2 separate regions of the Homo sapiens genome follow, and region 1 is linked to region 2. The links are contacts of gene promoters, found by promoter capture Hi-C in blood cells and fetal thymus (Javierre and others, 2016). All regions are on one chromosome and are shown on one strand. Each heading gives the region's core, a stretch centred on a gene start or on the middle of the fragment in contact. The rest is flanking DNA. Distances are from core to core; before and after follow the strand shown. Region 1 overlaps AKAP9 (A-kinase anchoring protein 9). Region 2 holds the start of CDK14 (cyclin dependent kinase 14).

The links. The method cuts DNA at HindIII sites, captures the fragments that hold promoters and counts their contacts. A CHiCAGO score of 5 or more calls a contact.
Region 1: a contact is called between a fragment that was not itself captured here and the fragment with the promoter of CDK14 in region 2, in 1 of 17 cell types (total B cells). The highest score is 5.2, in total B cells.

Annotation. Positions count from the first base shown.
Region 1 is chr7:91,947,980-91,950,844 of GRCh38, forward strand. The region is part of intron 1 of AKAP9 (A-kinase anchoring protein 9); the gene reads left to right. Among named protein-coding and RNA genes, the nearest start is that of AKAP9, 8.6 kb to the left of the region's middle. The HindIII fragment of the contact is 312 bases long and covers 1,386-1,697 here.
Region 2 is chr7:90,594,977-90,597,712 of GRCh38, forward strand. It overlaps CDK14 (cyclin dependent kinase 14), which reads left to right and starts at 1,345. Exons shown (of 15, transcript NM_001287135.2): 1 at 1,345-1,742. The coding sequence starts at 1,652. RefSeq lists silencers at 953-1,152, 1,173-1,482, 1,673-1,872, 1,933-1,982. The HindIII fragment of the contact is 4,165 bases long and covers 590-2,736 here.

The DNA.
Region 1 (2,865 bases), core at 292-2,791, 1.4 Mb after region 2:
ACAATCACCAACGCACTCTCTGGATTTACCAGTTGTAGATATTTAATATGAAAGGAATCATATAATATGTGACCCTTTGTGTCTGGCTTCTTTCACTTAGTATGTTTTCAAGGTTCATCCATTTTGCTGCATATATCAGTACTTCATTCCTTTTTATGGCTGAATAATATTCCATTGTATGTATATACCATAATTTGTCCAATGATAGGCATTTGGGTTGTTTCTGTCTTTTGGCTATTGTGAATAGTGCTGCTGTGAACATTTGTATGGATGTATTTGAGTACCTGTTTTCATTTCTCTTGGGTATATACCTAGTAGTAGAACTGAGCAAGGTCATATGGTAGTTATATTTCAACTTTTTGAGGAACTGCCAAACTGTTTCCATAGTGACTGTACCATTTTACCTTCCCATCAGCAATGTATAGGACATTCCAATTTTCCCATAACCTCATTAACAGTTGTGTTTTCTGTTTTTTTTGTTTGTTTGTTTTGTTTTTTTGTTTTTTTAATACTCATCCTTGTGGGTATTAAGTGGTTTCTAATTGTGGTTTTGGTTTGTATTTTCCTAATGAATAATGATATTGAGTATCATCTTTTAATGCACTTTTTGGCCACTTGTAGATTTCTTTTTTTTTTTTTTTTTTTTTTTGAGATGGAGTTTTGCTCTTGTCTCCCAGGCTTGAGTGCAATGGCGCAACCTCAGCTCACTGCAACCTCCACCTCCTGGGTTCAAGTGATTCTCCTGCCTCAGCCTCCCTAGTAGATGGGATTACAGGCATCCACCACCATGCCCGATTAATTTTTTTGTATTTTTAGCAGAGATGGGGTTTCACCATGTTGGCCAGGCTGGTCTTGAACTCCTGACCTCAGGTGATCTGCCCGCCTCAGCCTCCCCAGTAGCTGTGATTACAGGCATCCACCACCATGCCCGATTAATTTTTTTGTATTTTTAGCAGAAATGGGATTTCACCATGTTGGCCAGGCTGGTCTTGAACTCCTGACCTCAGGTGATCTGCCCACCTCGGCCTCCCAAAGTGCTGGGATTACAGGCCTGAGCCACTGCGCCTAGCCCATTTGTAGATCTTCTTTAGAGAAATGTCTATTAATATCCCTTGCCCATTTTTTAATTGGGTTGTTACCAACTTCTTTTATCTAATATTAATTATATATGTATATAAAATATATATATATCCTTTCCGTATGTGTGGAGAGAGAGAGAACGTGTGCACTCAAGCACCAGAGAGGAATGGGTAGAAATACGTATCCCCAGTGGGATTATCTTCCATATATATATATTTTTAGGCTTTTTGGGCTTTGCCAAAATTTAAATTGTTGCTTCCTTTGAGTGATAGGTTCTTGGTGAGTTGATAACAGCATGATGCTGAAGCTTGATTTCTTTGTTGGCCAGTGAGTCATTCCATTCCATGAGCAGCTGTTTTACAAGTGCATGCAGTTGGTTAAAGGGGCACCTGTTGGATTTTTGGCTTGATCATTGCCAGTCCATTTACACTGTGAGAAAAAAGTAACTTAGTGTTCAAAAATGAAAAGACCTGTCATTTTAAACATGGGGGATCTGTAGCTACTTCACTAGTATGAGATGTCTTTGTTGTCATATTGACACCCCTTTTATTTTTTGTCTTAGTCATCACCAAACTGTAACTTACAACACTTAGTGCCCTTCTAGGTACATTGCATAAAGCTTTGGTTGATTTTTGCATGGGTTTAACAGTATTCAAAAGTGTTCAATATTCAGAGTATTCAAAAATTTAACATTATTTCAGGAGTAGTTTTGCTTAGGTTCTTTGTTTAAATTTATAGATTCTTTTGTAATATGTAAAATTCCTTTTTCCTCCTTGTTCACTAACAATGTAGTGTTTGTTTTCAGTTACCATCAGAGTTAAGATTCTTATTGTGGTTTACTGTTCTCTGAGATTTTTGTGTGGTGTGAAAGTTTCTCTGTAAAAGTCTAAGAGTTTTTCCCCCTTTTAAGAAATAATTTCTTAAAGCCCCCAAGATTATTGTTTTGATGATTCAGAACTATAATCAACTTTACTATACAAAGTCCTAATCTGTAAAGATTGATTTCATAGGTTCTCTGATTTACAGATCTCTGAAAAACTAATAGGGTATAAAATCTAGGCTCTCTCTCCTATTAGTACTGAACACACTATAAAATTCCTTGTTGTTTACTAGGATTGCTCATTGTGGGCTCTGTGGTTAGGCTGTATTTATTCCTCCAGGGTCTCACTTTTTTTTTTTTTTTTTTTTGAGACAGAGTCTTGCTCTGTCACCCAGGCTGGAGTGCAGTGGCACTATCTCGGCTCAGTGCAAGCTCTGCCTCCCGGGTTCACGCCATTCTCCTGCCTCAGCCTCCCCAGCAGCTGGGACCACAGGTGCACGCTGCCAAGCCCGGCTAATTTTTCTGTATTTTTAGTAGAGACGGGGTTTCACTGTGTTAGCCAGTATGGTCTCAATCTCCTGACCTCATGATCCGCCTGCCTCGGCCTCCCAAAGTGCTGGGATTACAGGCGTGAGCCACAACGTCCAGGCTAGGGTCTCACTTTTATTCAAGTTAGTATTGCCTTATTAGTTGTTTCCCCAGAGAAGATAGTGACAGGGATCAATTATAACTAAAATAGTAGTTCTCCATATGTATCATGAATCAAATTTTGTGTGTGGAGACCTTGTGGGGATTGCAGTGGGCATGGGGCAGAGATCTCAGTTAATTCTTACGCCGTTTATATCCTCTACTCCATTTCTTGAGAGCCAAATAAATTAGTAGATCTTCTTCTAAATGGCAAGATATTAGAAAATATGTTAAAACTGCATTAGGAAATATCTACTAGGAGTTTATATATGAAATAA
Region 2 (2,736 bases), core at 95-2,594:
CACTGTTTTACCTCACAATTTAAGGAAGGCAGGGGGCTAGTTTTTAAGATAAAAATCTTTTAACAAAACATAAACTCCCCAAAATTTCCTACAAGCCAAACAGCATTGTCACACCCTCACAAGCTCTTATTACTTACACAGCCAAATGACTCAAGATTACTAACGTTTCTATTCATAAGGAGTTTGCTGGCCTCAGATCAACACAATCAAGCCCTCCCCCACCTTCCTTCTCTCTCCCCTGGGAGACTGACGTTTGGAACTCACGCCGCACCAGGTTTTTTCAGAATGAAGACGATGTGTGTTCGCTGCTGGAACTGTTTGTCCTGGGATTTTATAAACACCTCCCCCACTCCTTTTTAAAGTTCTGTTTTTGAGGTGGGGGAAAAGGAGGTCGGAATCTGTTTAGCCTTTAAATCTCCCAATTCAGAAATATATTCTAAGAATTTAATAGAAAAAGACCAAGGGCTGTGTCTGCTATTTACTGCAGAACTGGGTATTCCTATCAGAAATCACCTACATGTGTCACCAAGATCAGAGACAAGGATGAGGGAAACAGCATGATCCCTGCCTTCTGGAGGGTTACAGTTGAAGCTTCCGCTGCTTCTGCACTTGACCTCAAAACAAACAAAAAACCCACCGCAAACAACAACAAAAAAATCCAGGCCCACCTTTCCCCTTGGATCTTTCACTTGACAGCTTTCTCGGCCCAAAATAAGGCACCCTACATCTGAATGCATCCCTAAGGCCTTACCGCACCCAGTCCAGGAGGCAGTCCTGGCAGCTGCCCTCCACCGAACTCCGCGCTTTTTCACACACGCTCGTGGAAGGAGAAAACCGCTCAAACAACTGGACTCGGCCCGTTTCCTTTCGGTAACCTCCCCACAGCCCAACACGCTGTCCCCAGACGCTGCCCGCTCCCACCCCGGTCCCTTCGTGATCCTCCCGCGCGCGGGCGGGGCGGGGGAGGAGCGCGGGGGCGGCCGGGAGGGGCGCGGCCGGGAGGGGGCGCCGCCGGGGCGCGAGCCAGACACAGAGGGCCGCGGAGGACGCGGGAGGCGAGCGGGGAGCCGAGGTCGTGCTAGGATCCCGCGCCCAGGGGCCTTCGTCGAGGGAGGGGCGTGGCGGCGGCAGCAGGAGGGCAGCAGGAGCTGTCAGGCTGGCGGTTCCGCGCCGCGGCTCCTTCTGCGCTGCGCCCGCAACTCTGGGCTGAGAACTTCTCCCGCCGGCCCACTCGCCCTCGCCCCGCGCACTCGGCGCCAGGCGACTCCCGCACCTTGTACCCGGCCCGCCCCGCCTCCTCCTTCGGCCGCACCACTCCCCCTGCCGGCCGCGCTTCTCTCCGTTACAAAGGAGGGAAAATGAGCCGGGCGGCGGCGGCGCGGCGCGGGGCCACCACGGCGGCGGCGAGCGCGGCCGCCCCCGGCACCACGTAAACCGCCCCCGCCCGCCCAGCTGCGGCCCAGGCCGGAGCGGAGCCTGCCGTCCTCCGCCTGCCTGCTGCTCGCCTCCCTAGACCTGCGCGTCGCTTCCCGGCCCGCCGAGGAGGTGGTGGAGGAGGAGGCGCCGCTTTCCCCGCGGCGCGCGCCCTCGCCGTTGTCTGAGCTGTGCCTGGACCAGTTTGGGGAAGTTGTCGGGGCTCCGCGTCGCCCAGATGTGTGACCTCATTGAGCCGCAGCCGGCCGAGAAGATCGGCAAGATGAAGAAGTTGCGGAGAACTTTGTCGGAGAGTTTCAGTCGCATTGGTGAGTAGCGCGCTGCCCCCGGCCCCCCCAGCGCCCGCTCCCCTCGGCCTGCGCCCCCGCCGCGTTCCTGGCACCAGCCATGCAGCTGCCAGCGGGGCTGGCGTGGGGTGCGTTGTAGGCGGGGATCGAGGGCACAGTGCTAGGGACCCGGGGGAGGGCAAGGACGTAAAGGAAAGAGACCCCTCTTCCTCAGGATCTGGGGGTTCATTTGTAGATTCTCTCAAGCCTACAATATGGGTTCTCCCCTCCTCCGCCACTAGTGCTCGCCCTTTCGCGCGCGTGGGGGACGGGCGAGGGGACCCCTCGGCCCCCACCGCGCAAGGGGCTGCGCGGCTGCTTGGGCCACTTGTTATTTTTTGCGCACAGGCTTGGATATTGGGCGTTTAGTCAGTAATTTAGCTTTGGAAATTGGTGAAACGTTAGACTGTGCCCTGGTATTGTTTAACGTATCCAACCTAAAGGGAAGTGGGACAGTTACCTTGGGACCTATTGTTCGGTACTTCGGGTCCTGGAAAGCGAGATTTGGGTGTTCAGTCTCGAGGTCTCTGAATCTTCCCGCTGCTGGAGAGAAATGCGCGCTGTGGAGTTGTCTGGACATTTAGGAATGTCTCTCGAACTTGTTCCATTTAATAGAGCTCAGGGGCTGTTGTCTTTAAACCAAACAACAAACCAACTGACCAACAGTGTTTAGGACAGTGACGAATAAATGCATGTCACAGGTTGTAATAGGGTGACAGCAGTATCACGTGGAATGGGTTTGTTAGATTTTGAGTACTGGGCATAGAAAACCCCTTTTAACCTGAAGAGTTAGCTGCCTCCCCTACTGTCACAACTTTCACTAATAACATGTAACTGCCCTGAGCAAGAGAATGCTATAGACACAAAAGATAACCCCTGCGAGTCCCTAGGAAGCTGCCTAGTCTTTGTTTCACTTGTTTTAAATGTCATCCATGTTAACGAAAGTGTTAATGGAAATTAAACATAAAGGTACTTA